Regions from separate parts of the Homo sapiens genome. Here region 2 is linked to region 1. Evidence: promoter capture Hi-C in 16 types of primary human blood cells and fetal thymus (Javierre and others, 2016). All regions are on one chromosome and are shown on one strand. The core of a region is centred on a gene start or on the middle of the fragment in contact, and the rest is flanking DNA. Distances in the headings are between cores, read along the strand shown.

Evidence for each region. Contacts are between HindIII fragments. The CHiCAGO score rates a contact against its expected background, and 5 or more counts as called.
Region 2: a fragment that was not itself captured here is called in contact with the fragment with the promoter of GHITM in region 1 in 1 of 17 cell types (naive CD8 T cells); the score reaches 7.3 in naive CD8 T cells.

What each region holds. Positions count from the first base shown.
Region 1 is chr10:84,135,941-84,142,988 of GRCh38, reverse strand. It overlaps GHITM (growth hormone inducible transmembrane protein), which reads right to left and starts at 3,480. Exons shown (of 9, transcript NM_014394.3): 1 at 3,396-3,480; 2 at 1,360-1,527; 3 at 235-334. The coding sequence starts at 1,488. RefSeq lists a silencer at 3,200-3,399 and enhancers at 2,973-3,542, 3,543-4,112. The HindIII fragment of the contact is 9,095 bases long and covers 1-5,103 here.
Region 2 is chr10:80,071,143-80,077,989 of GRCh38, reverse strand. The region is part of intron 1 of TMEM254-AS1 (TMEM254 antisense RNA 1); the gene reads left to right. Among named protein-coding and RNA genes, the nearest start is that of TMEM254, 4.1 kb to the left of the region's middle. The HindIII fragment of the contact is 1,968 bases long and covers 3,202-5,169 here.

The DNA.
Region 1 (7,048 bases), core at 2,231-4,730:
AATAATCCTTTTCTTTAAAAAAAAGGAAAGTAAAATTTCCACTGGAAGAAATATGATTGATAACCACTGAATCCAGTGCAAAGTACCAATCTTTTCTGGGTCGTCAGATCTCAGAATAATAATGTGGTCTTCCCAGAAAATGCACAAATACACATATATTTTTAGGAAGTTGTTCATGGACCTCTTAAAACATATCCATAGATTCTAGGTTAAAAACTAAAGATAGCCACCTACTTTTAAATATTTTTTCCATCGATGGTTCCAATGCTGCCTCTTTGAGTTCTTGGCCAGTTCTCCCACGCCGGATCCCAATTCTTGTTTTGGTGGCATATTCCTGACACACATGCAAACAAAGACACGTACCACCCACATGAAAACAGAACGTTAATAAAATAAAATGCAAGATCCCTTTACACTAGAAAACTCTAGTTAAAGAAACTTGGTACTTTCTATATACCTAACTTCACTATGGAAATTTATTAGCCAACTTAAAAAACTAAATGTAAAAATAAATAAATAAATGTAGACCTTCCCTGTGCTCCACCTTTGGAAGTTAGTAATTCATTATATTATTCTTAGTTTCAATTTCAGAAAAATTGTTTCTTTCACAAACTATAGATTTACATACCTAGAATTGTTATATTTTAAATCCTAACCAAATACCAGGGTGAGAATCTGTTAGCATTTTTAAGATATGCATTCTACAAGCATTATTAGCTATATTTTGTCATCTGGGATATGGACTCAAGAACAGCATCTTTCCTTAACATGAAGCCAAGAAGAGGGAAGACTACTACTTCCATTGTGGCTCTTTTTCAACAGTGGAACAGTTAATTTAAAAGAGAAAATGTCTCCTAGCTTCTTTATATTGTCCTCATTACCTCACACTTCAAACCTTATAATCTGAATGCCAGAAGATAAATCTATTATAAAAATGGGTTTCTTTCTAACCTGACAGATATTATCAACCTCTAAATAAGAGATAATATATTTAGTAATTTATTAATAAGCTATTGGCCAACTGGTAATATCCCTGGGTTCTTAAACTTCTGACTATGTGCTCCAGGATCTCCGTTACACTATGTAACTCTCAATCCCTCACAATGTACTCTAAATTTTCTAAATGAGAAACTCCAGAAGCTGTAAGCGAAGACAGAGTTACAGAAACTCATTTTCTATTTCATATGGGATAAGGAGGGACCAGAATGATACAAACTAATGGGGAGAAAGAGCTGATTGGGGATATTATCAGGGCTAACTGACGTATAACACACTAAAGGCAGAGCAGCCATACTCTGCCAAAAAGAAAGGGCACAAATGGAAAAAGAAGCAATATAAAAACATTCAGATTATCTTTACCCTGCTAGGTGTTAACAGCCATTGATTCTTCGTGATGGAATTCTTCACAACAGGGGAGGCCTTGGTGAAAGCTGGGTGGAAAACCCTAGAAGGTAGTGTCCGGAGACACACCAGCCTTGCAGCCAACATGGTGGTGGTGCACCAGGTCTACCGAGCAGATCTGAAATGCTAGTTTAAAAAAAAGGCAAAACCAACCAAAAAAACATAAGTAAAACAACCTACTAACCAATTAAGAGAAGGACATATGAGAGTCAGAGTCAAGGAACAAACTATTTTTTAGTAGAACAGGAAATAAAGCGACCTTTTTAATTTTCAGCGATGAATTCTTTGCCCAACCATCCACTGTAATGCAAGAAACCCATCCCAGAGAACACAGCTGAAGATGGAGGAACAAACTAGGTTTAAGTCCCAGTTTGACCAATCAAAATAGATGACTGCAAAAATTATGTGTAACACAGAACGGCTGTTAATAACTGGACGTGATTACAGAGTCTGTGATGGTTTTTACAAATGTAGTTTTGGCTTAAGATTTATACCAGCATCCAGTGGGAAAATTTAAAAGAATCTACATAACTTTTGGGCAAAGGAATAGTGTCATCCAAAGAAGACATGAATAGCTCTTCAAGGTTATACTGCATTACAAAGCTAAAAGGTATTAAAAGAAGCCAACTATATGAATTTCAGCTAATCATACCAAATATTACTTTCCTTCAACATGAGATATAAAAATATTCTAAGTTAACCTATTCTATATGTCCTACTATAATGCGTAAAGGACATTTAGTCTTTCAAAGTAAACAAGTAAACTCAGTTACCAACCAGGTTTCCCTTACATTAGACTCCCTCGATGGTGTCTTCAAAAGAAAAGCATGCTAAAAACTGGATTATCTTAGCTCCAGGGCACATTATACTAGATGGGTGGTCAACCAGAAGTCAGCAGACAGTGTTTCTGTAATGCTAAGGTGAGGTGACTACAATAGGTCAGAATGAAATGACGAGTGTAAACCAACTGGGGCTACCAGCCCATCTCTGCCAATGATTTGTAGTGAATTCTAGGCAAGTGATATACTTCTGGGCCCATTTCCCCATCTGTAACATAAGGATTCCGTGTTCAGACTACAGCGTTGACCCTTAGACTACCTGCTTGAAAGTGCCCCGGATGCATCTTAAAATGTAGGCTCCTGGGTCTTTCTTTGCTCCTAATGATTCTACCCCTAGGAATAAGACCAAGAACGTGTGTTTTAACGAACACTCCAAAAGCTAAGAACTATTGCTTTAAGATACCCGAGCGTCCTCCGAGCTCTGCAACTGAACTATTAAGGGTCTTAAAATTCGGCACCCGGCCTTTGGGAAAACACCCAGCGCTTTTGGAACTTTCGTGCCATTACATCATCTCAACCTATGGCTGTCCTGTATCTTCCTCAGTACTCAGTCCACTGGTTGGGGCCGAAGAGGTCCAGCTCAGAGTGACCTCCATGTGGCGTAACAGCCCAGAGTGGGAATCCCGCTTCTGACAGGTTAGAAGTGACCTTGTGAGGAGTGTGGATCTCTAAGACTCAGATGTCGTTGCTATAAAATGGGGAAAATACTACCGACCCTAATCCAAGGGCTTATGCCTCCGTGAGCATTGATGAGTTTGGGTGCCTGGTCCCCGAGAAAGTTCACCCAGCCCGCTAGATTCAGATGAGAACCCGGCAGCAAACTTCCCTGTCAACCCACAACACCTCTGCCCCTGCCCCAGGTGCCGCTACCAGCGCAGCGGCTGTACGGCCTCGCCGCAAGGATGACTCAGCACCTTGTTGCCCGAGGACAGAAGCACAGCTACACTGAGCCCTTGCCCGCCTGACCAGGGCCTTGTGCCGCCGCCCTCTCCACCAGGTCACCCACAGGACTGCGACCCCAACGCGCAGGCCGGCCCTGACGCAGCCAGCAGCACCGCTGCTTCCAGCCCTTCCCCCCGCACCCAGCGGTCCCGTGAGGGCGGCTGTCAGGACCACCGGGGATCCCGGGCGCCCGCCGGCCAGCCGGAGCAGTACCTCGGTCCCCGGTCACCTTCGCCTCGCAGTTTCCCTTCCGGGCCCCTAGCGTCGGCCTCAAAGAGCACAGTTCCTCCGGCGCACTGCATGACGCAACATCGAAAGGACGTAAATAGTACGAGCAGCCAATCACGGGCAGGCCTCTGTCGGAAAAGCGGCCACACTGGGGGAGGCGGGGTTCCGGGTTGAGGAGGCGGGGTTCCAAATTGGTGGGGCGGGGCCAGTTGAGGATTGTTGCAGGGAACGTCATAGTCAGCGTCCATTTTGCGTGTGGGCATGGGAGTCGTCTCGGCCATCTTTGTTTTGGGCAGTGGAGCTCTGTTTTGCTTTTGTTTTAGTCGTTTCACTCGCCGCAGCTATAAGAATTATGTAAAAATTGAAAGAAAGTAATGTTAGAGTTAAAAATTATTCCGTTTATTCCGTTCCTTTTTGAAGGCCTTTTTGTCCCTTAATTTATCGTGAGATAAATATCTTTTCAAATGTGTCTGCTTCTGAGCCGAGTCATCCGGTTTCTGGGGTCTCATGCCAAATGTTAGATGGTGACATCCAGAAAAGATTTTTTCTAGATGGTTTTTTCATTGCTTTGTGACTTTCCCGCCCACATTTTCAAGTTTCACCCTAAACCTGTGTAATAGGCCTGATAACAGCCGCCTCTGCCTTGCACCCAGGATTGCTCTGAGGACTAAGATGTTTCCATTGCGCGTAATTTGATAGGTGAAGAGCTAGTTGTGGAATACGCGAGAGAGTTACTTTCTTTTTCACTCTCCCTCTATTTCAACAGATATTTACTGAATGCTCAACTTCGTACCAAGCTCTGTTCTAGAAATATATACAAATGAATCAGCCGGGCGTGGTGGCTCAAGCCTGTAATCCCAGTACTTTGGGAGGCCGCGGCGGGTGGATCACTTGAGGTTAGGAGTTCGAGACCAGCCTGGCCAACGTGGGGAAACCCTGTCTCTACTAAAAATACAAAAATTTGCCAGGCGTGATTGGTGCCTGTAATCTAAGCTACTTGGGAAGCTAAGGCAGGAGAATCACTTGAACCCAGGAGGCGGAGGTTCCAGTGAGCCCAGATCCCGCAACTGCACTCCAGCCTGGGCGATAGAGGGAGACTCAGTCTCAAAAAAAAAAGAAACCAAAAAAACAAAAACAAAAAAACAGCAAATGAATTAAACCCGTGTGTGCTACCACTATTTTAACAAAATAAAGTCCTTGCTCTGTGGCTTTACTTTCTGGTAGAGACAGAACATAGAAAAAATATAATGTGATAACTTAATACCATGAAGAAAGAGCAGATTAAAACCCTGAAAGGGTGATAAGGTGATTAACAACATGCAAAATTCATGAACCTTTATCTCCTAAGCAGTAGTTAATTGTGATTTATGATTCCTAATCATGTAAACCTTGACAAATATAAAGACTTGCCTTCTATGTGGATAATAAAAGAGTCTGGCAGCAACACAATTCTTATCTCTTTACGCTGAAAATGGCAGGAAAACACTAGAGAAATCTCACGAAACTGAACAGATCAAGCATGATCAGTTTAATTTTTATTTTGATCTATGCCCAATTTTATTAGCTAGCAAATAGGTTTTCTGTTTGGCTCCTTCAGTGATAGTCTTTTTTTCTAGAGCTTCTGTTATCAGCAAAGAGAAAGGATTTACAACACAGTACCAGAATAAAGATCTTGAAGTCAATGACTCAAGCTTTCTTCAAGATTCCTATTAAAGCTTATTCTCTCCATATTGGAAGAAAAATGTCTGATTTCATATTTTCCTTTCTCAAGTAAAGGGCTTGTATTGTTGTTTCCACAGGGGTCAAATATTTTGAAGCAGGGGAGGAATCTGGTCATATCATTGGGAAATATATGCTCTTGTGGCAGTGTAGGAAGGGAGAGGTTCCATGGACCAGGAGACCAATTAGGAATTTATTGTAGTTGTTCAACCAAAAGGCAATAAAGGCTGGAATTAAGCCAGTAGAAAGACACAGAGGGGTTTATGACAGAGATATATTGCTGAAGTGGAGTTTGCAGGATTGAATGGTCGGTCAAATATAGCTGATAAGAATGAGGAAGGCTCCCTGAGTAATCCTTCTGAACTGGGTGGATAATTTTATCATTAATTTAGCAATAGGATACAGGGAGAGATACAAGTGAGGGGAAGTAGATACATAAAACTTAGTTTGAAGTGTTTAATTGTTAAGTTCTCTGCTTCTAAGTTCTTAGAGTGTAGGATAGAGAAAAGGACAAGCCGGGAATGGTGGCACATGCATGTAGTCCCAGTTACTGGGGAGGTAGCCCAGGAGCTTAAGGCCGGCCTGGGCAACATAGGGTGATGCTGTCTTTAAAAATAAATAAGTAGGCTGTGTGTGGTGGCTCACGCCTGTAATCCCAGCACTTTGGGAGGCCGAGGCGGGTAGATCACAAGGTCAGGAGATTGAGACCATCCTGGCTAACATGGTGAAACCCCGTCTCTACTAAAAATACCAAAAAAAAAAAAAAAAAAAAAAAAAATTAGCAGAGCATGGCGGTGGGCACCTGTAGTCCCAGCTGCTCGGGAGGCTGAGGCAGGAGAATGGCATGAACCCAGGAGGTGGAGCTTGCAGTGAGCCGAGATCGTGCCACTGCATTCCAGCCTGGGCAACAGAGCGAGACTCCACTTCAAAAAAATAAAAAATAAAAAATAAAAGAATAAATAAGTAAATAAAAAGGAAAAGACATGATTCGTAAATTCCAATACTATATATATGTCACGGTTTTTATTACAGTCTGCTGATGAATTCCTTATTCTCCACTTGCTGGCTAAGTGAGATATGCTGCATTATAGTGGAGAAAACTCAGAGCCAGGACAAAAGATAAAATATTTTATTTACTTTCAGTTAAAATAAATGCTCTCACCTTGCCCTACTATGCTTTCCCATCAGAAGATGTGGTATGAATGAAACAGAGTTGGAAAGGGAGTTTGCTGGGGCTTTAACCTCTGCCCTCCCTGATGGAGTCTCCCAACAAAGGGAAGGTGCTTCTTCCTGAAAGGTTGCAGATGTTTCTGAATGTAGGGACCAATTGGCACCTGCTTCTCATGTGGTTGCTAAGTGGCAGACAACAGAGCAGGTAGGAAAGTTACAAGATCTTCCCCATCTTGGCCTTGTTTTCCCTTGGAATCCCTAAGGTCTAGATAAACACAAGAATGTGATTGTGAGCACGCACCTGCTTGTTTGCACCCTTCGAGATGCTGCTCAGTAGTGAGGCGACACTAGAAGTATGTGTGGGTGAGATGCCCAGATGGGCACCAACAGACCATTTAGTGTATGACAAGGCAGAGCCATTTGACTCTGCTTGGGTGAGAGATCAAACTGTGCCAACTTCAAAAGTTATATCCTGCCAGCCACAGAAAGACAATGAAGCCATGGGGACTACTCCCTTTAGATTTTGCTGAACGGCAGCTGCATGACAATGCAATGACTAAGAGGTAGAGTGGAAGGACAGAGAAGCTACACTTTTTCCCCTCCTGTTTAATGTAAATGTTTCTAATCCAGTTGTGGCCCAGGAGAGGAGAAAGGACTTTGAACTCCAATGTGACTGATGGTAATAAATCCTGAAACTGACAGACAAATTGTCAGACTGTTCTGAGCTTGCAAAATGGAATAAATAGGCT
Region 2 (6,847 bases), core at 2,936-5,435, 4.1 Mb after region 1:
TTGAAGTTCTCTGTGCTGTGCACCTTGAGAAATAATGCTGTCCTCATTAGTTAAGATGTTTGGAACTATACAGCACCATGGTTATGAGCAGGGACTGTGAAACAGGCTGCCTGGATTTAAGTCCTGGCTCTGTCTCGGCTATTTGTGTAAGCTTAGATTAATTACTTAGCCCGGCTGTGTCTTAGTTTCTGTATCTGTAACATGAGGATATGCCAGTTTTGGGAACCTCAGGGTTTTTAGGGTGGGTTAAATGAGTTGATATCTGTAAAGAAAGCACAGCAGTGTCTGGCCCATAGTGCTTTGTAAGTGTGGGTGATTATCAATACTGCTGAGCCTTTAGCATGTGTGCCAGGCCCTGTGCGAACTGTTGTATCATCAATGAGCTGTGGGAGGTATATGCAGCTGAAGTGTCTGATTAAACACTATTTAATCATAGAAATAGAAAATCATAGAAATAGAAAAACTATTTCACCTGGGCCTTAAAAATGGGTTACTGGCCAAGCGCAGTGGCTCAAGCCTATAATCCTGGCACTTTTGGAGGCCGAGGTGGGTGGATCGCTCAGGAGTTCGAGACCACCCTGGAGAACATGGTGAAACCCTGTCTCTACTAAAATACAAAAAATTAGCTGGGGGTGGTGGCGCGTGTCTATAGTCCCAACTACTTGGGAGGCTGAGGCACGAGAATTGCTTGAGCACCGGAGGCGGAGGTTGCAGTGAGCCGAGATCCAATCACTGCACTTCAGCTTGGGCTATAGAGTGAGACTCCGTCAAAAAAAAAAAAAAAAAGTTACTATACTGTAGCTGGTATTTATTGAACACCTACTATGTTCAAGGCATTGTTCTAAGTACTATACAATAATTAACTAATTTAATTCTTAAAACAATCCTAGGCAGTAAACTATTGTCCTTATTTCAAAGAAGAAGAAACAGCACAGGGTCCTGTCATGCCCAAGTGGGTGAGGAATACTGGAAAACAATTGGCAGCTGAGTGTTCCAGTTCCAGAGAGGGCACTCTGGAACCAACCAAGGTTCTCTTTCCTCATTTTTTACGTGAGTATCTTGGGATATAAAGTCTTAAAGAATGAATTTCAGAATATGTGAGGAAATCCATTTCCCAGGTAGACCACAGTGCTCTTGAATATCAAGATTAACAGTAACAATTGTAACAATTGGTGTTTTCTTAGTCCTTATCATCCTTGATCACACCACCCTCTTTATTCTTCTCCTCCTTCTGAATAACTCCTTGTTTTCTCAGCTTTCCTTTTCTTTCTTCTCTCCTAGAATAAGTTTTGCTTATTATCTTCTTTGTGTTTTCAGTACCTATCAGATTCAATTTTCACCTTCAGCTGACTAAAATAATCTCTTCAGCCCTCACCTCTTCCCAGTTGGTCACCTTTACCAAAGATTACTCACACCTCAAAGACAAGAAGTCCATTATCATTATCCACAGAGTCCATCCTCACCAAGGCTACCCTGTCTGTGGTTTTTTTTTTTTTTTTTTTTTTTTTTGAGATGGAGTTTTGCTCTTGTTGCCCAGGCTGGAGTGCAGTGTTGCGATCTCGGCTCACTGCAACCTCTGCCTCCCCACTTCAAGTGATTCCCCTGTCTCAGCCTCCTGAGTAGCTTGGATTACAGGTGTGCACCACCACGCTTGGCTAATTGTGGAGACGGGGTTTCACCATGTTGGCCAGGCTGGTCTCGAACTCCTGACCTCAGGTGATCTGCCTGCCTCGGCCTCCCAAAGTGTTGGGATTACAAGTATGAGCCACCTCGCCCGGCCTACTCTATGTGAACAGCACTTTCTTTCTACCTTGTACCCAGATTCCTTGCTTTGACTTCCCCCATATCATATAAAGATTGCAGACTAATCAGCTGTCAAGAGTTCTACTGATTGGGTAATACAATATCTAATCCTTCTAGATTAAATCATGGCTTCATCTCCACTGTCTCATGAGTCAGTCACTCCTTCCTACTTCCTGCCACTTCAGCCCACATGCAGTCCCTTTATTGAATCTGTCTGACAAATAACAGGATCATCTTTTTCAAGTACAGTTCTGATCAAGCCTTTACCATACCAAAACTTTTTTTTTTTTTTGAGACAGAGTCTCACTCTATTGCTCAGATTGTAGTGCAATGGCGCAATCTCAGCTCACTGCAACCTTGGCCTTCTGGGTTCAAGTGATTCTCCTGCCACACTCTCTCTAGTAGCTGGGACTACAGTCACATGCCACCACACCCAGCTAATTTTTTGTATTTTTAGTAGAGATGGGGTTTCGCCATGTTGACCAGGCTGGTCTCAAACTCCTGACCTCAGGTGATCCACCTGCCTTGGCTTCCCCAAGTGCTGAGATTACAGGTGTGAGCCACCATACCCAGCCTACCTTACCAAAAGTTTCAAGAACTTCCCCAATTTTAGGCTGCCGTTTTTCAGTATTTCTATTTAGGTATTAAATCTGCAACGAGGGAGATATTGGAGAAATTATTCATGCTACAAGAAATGTTGGAGAGGCAAAATGGCTTCAGTCAACAGACTACAGGGAGCTAGGTTTTAGTTTCATGTCTTCTACAACCCTGCTTGGAGCCCAGCCTGTTACTTAGTGTCCTATGTCTTCCAACTCCACACTATTTTTTTTTTTTTTAATAGAGACGGTGCTTCACTATGTTGCCCAGGCAGATCTCAAACTCCCAGCCTTAAGTAATCCTTCCACCTCAGCCTCCCAAAGTGCTGGGATTATAGTTAGAGGCTGTACCTGGCCACCAACAGCTCAACACTAAACATCTTACTGTTAGCCCCTCACGCACAGATAAGGAATCCAGAAGACAGTACCAGAAGATCTTTGTTCAGATGTGAGTAGTTTATGTAAATTCATGAAGAACTTACAGTCAACTGGATGTTCAGAAGGCATTCCTTTCTTCATTACAGTCACCCTTCACACACGGCAGGGGTGACTGAATTCTCTAAGGTCCAGGCACCCTACACTGCTGTCCCATCTGAATTGGCAGAGAAATATCTCATCCCTGGACATTTTTATCCCCCTGTCTAGATGGATTAGTGACCTAAATATGAAAAATAATGAAGAAAGTCTGGGAGAATAGTTTTACAACTTTTGAGGGAGGGGAAGGAAACCTTTTAGCAAGTTATTAAAATTAAAAGCCATAGAAGGAAAGATTGAAAATTTAACTGCATCCAGATGAAAAGCTTCATTCATATGAATGACACTGTAAATAAAGTTGAAATACCTGGAAGAAGGAATTCTCCAATATATGTAATTGACAAATGATTAAAGGATATGAATTGGGCATCCTCAAAAGAGAAAACTTGAGACCAAGCAAAATGAAAGGATGGTTCAATCTTAATGGCCCTATGGGATACGCAAAATAAAGCAAAAATAACATTGTTTTTCCTCATAAGATTGGCCTACTAGATATCAAGACACACTGTAAAGAGCTATAATAATGTAAAACATTTGGCACTTGACATGCAGAAATCAACAAATGGATCAATGAAAAAATAATGCAGACTCCAGACATGGATCTGGTATATACATATCCAAGCGTTTATTTTATAATAAAGGTAACATTTCAAATTAAGGAAGGAATAATGGATTATTCAGTAAATTATTTTGGGGCAATTAGTTATCTATTCCAGAAAAAATATTTTAAATAATACTGTCCACTCCCAAACACAAATACACAAATGATGCAGTATCAAGAGATACAGAGGTATTAATAAGTAGTCCTCCTTGGGGAGTTATGATGAGGTGGCTATAGGATGGACAAGTGCTGAGATACAGCAAAAAACTCCCACACCTTCCCAGGATTATAGGATGGGGGAAGGGCGACCTAAACAAATTTACAGAAATTTGAATAGAATATTGTGTGTCCAGGGAATTAGGAGAAATTTTTTGTTGCTAGAAAAAAACAATGTGAAGAAATTGAGTGAAGGAAGTTGAGGCTGCAAAGACAGGTGGAGTCCTGATCATGAATGGCATTTGGTATCAAACCGAGGGGTTTTGATTTGATCCCTTAGCCAAGGTGAGTCAGTGAAATTCTGTTTGTTTTATTTAATTAATGTATTTATTATTTGTAGAGACGAGTCTCCCTATGTTGCCCAGCTGGTCTTGAACTCCTGGGCTCAAGTGATCCTCCTGCCTCAGCCTCCCAAACTGCTGGGACTACAGGTCAGGCTTGGGCCACCATGCTGAGCTAATTATTATTATTATTATTATTATTATTATTATTATTATTATTTTTAATAGAGATAGGGTCTCGCTATGTAGCCCAGGCTGGTTTTGAACTCCTGAGCGCAAGCTATCCTCCCACCTTGGCCTCCCAAAATGCTGGGATTACAGGCATGAGCAACCATACCTGCTCTGTTTGTTTTAACTAGTGGAGTGAACATATCTTGTGTACATTGGATGGAGGTAAAATTGGAAGGAAGGAAGGAGGAGAAGAAGAAAAATTATTGAAACAGTATAATGAGAATGGAGAAGGAAAATGCTACATTTTTTAGGTAGGGAAACCAAGGAATCATTCACTCAAATAGTCAAGAAATATTTCTGAAGACCGGCTGGGCGCGGTGGCTCACGCCTGTAATCCCAGGACTTTGGGAGGCTGAGGCGGGCGGATCATGAGGTCAAGAGATGGAGACCATCCTGGCCAATGTGGTGAAACCCCGCCTCTACTAAAAATACAAAAATTAGCTGGGTGTGGTGGCGCGTGCCTGTAGTCCCAGCTACTCAGGAGGCTGAGGCGGGAGAATCACTTGAACCCGGGAGGCACAGGTTGCAGTGAGCCAAGATTGCGTCACTGCACTCCAGCCTGGTGACAAAGCAAGACTCCATCTCAAAAATAATAAAATAAAATAAAATAGTAATAAAATTTAATTTCTGAAGACCAGTGTAGTGTCAGTTATGGTGCTAGGCTCTGGAAATATGAATATAAACCAAAAATAATATTCTAAGGCCCCCCCCTAACTATCTGAATGGACTTTCTTCTCAGCCAGGGCTCTTTTAAAATGTAACCTGAGAGACTGGTTCAGGCCATGACTGAAAGTGGGAGTCAGACATGCCTCATTATACCTTTCTGGCATTGACATCAACATAGACTGTAAGTCTGATAAGAAACATTTTACAACCTGTTCTCTCTGAAGCCTACTACCTGAAAGCTTCCTCTGCAAATAAGAACTTGAGTCTCCACAATCCTTAACCCAGATATTCCTTTCTCTTGATCCCAGGTATTTAGATAAACTCAACCAATTGTCAACCAGGGCTGCGTGTGGTGGTTTATGTCTGTAATCCCAGCAGTTTGAGTGGCCGAGGTGGGCAGATCACTTGAAACCAGGAGTTTGAGGCCAGCCTGGCCAACATGGTGAAACCCCATCTCTACTAAAAATGCAAAAATTAGCCAGGTGTGCTGGTGCATGCCTGTAGTGCCAGCTACTTGGAAGGCTGAGGTGGGAGGATCACTTGAATCTGGGAGGGAGAGGTTGCAGTGAGCTGAGATCATGCCACTGCACTCCAGCCTGGGTGACAGAGTGAGTTCCTGTCTCTAAATAAATAAATCAATAAAAATAAAAAATACAATAACAACTGTCAACCAGGAAATTAAACATCTACCTAGATTTTTTAAAAAAGAATAATCTTCGGCTGGGCACGCTGGCTCACGCCTGTAATGCCAGCACTTTGGGAGGCCGAGGCGGCCAGATCACGAGGTCAGGAGATCAAGACCATCCTGGCTAACGCAGTGAAACTCCGTCTCTACTAAAAATACCAAAATTAGCCGGGCATGGTGGTGGGCGCCTGTAGTCCCAGCTACTTGGGAGGCTGAGGTAGGAGAATGGTGTGAACCCAGGAGGTGGAGCTTGCAGTGAGCCGAGATTGCACCACTGCACTCCAGCCTGGGGGACACAGCAAGACTCTGTCTCAAAAAAAAAAACAAAAAACAAAAAACAAAAAAAAAGAAAACAAATAATCTTCTCTTGTACAATTTTTGATAAATAAGATATGGAATGAGAAACTGAACTGTTGCTTTCGTAGGTAAATGAGAGTCTGAGTTTCCTTAGCTCCAAAGAGAAAGGGCATTTTACTCCTCCCAGCTGAAAGGCACCCCTGGGTGACCAGGGGCCTTGTGGGAGTGTCTGTGAGGTTCACCCACCCATCATGACATGTAGCGCAGCAGCCCTACAGGGAACCCCCAACAAAATTAGTTTTAAAAAGGCTCATCCAGGAAGCACGTATGGGAGCTCCAGGTTTTGAGCCCTCTGAGAGGTGCTAGAGCTTCAGAGAGAGAAATTGAGACACATAAGAGGGCAACGATGACTCAGGGGTGACACCGTGGAGTCCTGCCTGCAACCAGCACACTTCCACCCATTCCACAAAAGCCCTAGGCCACAGCTCAGTTCCTCCTTTAAAAAATACTGGGAAACAAATAATCTAAGTATGAGGAGAAAACAAGGAGAATGACCCCCTTTGGGCACTCCATCAGTATTATGGTGGCTCTACTTACTAGAGTTTATGTGAAATTGAAGTATTATGGTGTTTGTGCACATTTACATTAAGGAAAAAGAGACCTAAGGTTGACCTGCAAACTATAGAGTTCCTAAGTTCTCCTTTTCTTTGTTTTCTTTTCTGTCTGACTTACATCTGCTGTTACTTTTCTATTGAGATTAAAAATCACTGGTTTTTTTTTTTTTTGAGATGGAGTCTCACTCCATCATGCAGGCTAGAGTGCAGTGGCACGGTCTCAGCTCACTGCAACCTCCACCTCCTGGGTTTAAGTGATTCTCCTTCCTCAGCCTCCCGAGTAGCTGAGATTACAGGCATCCACCACCACGCCTGGCTATTTT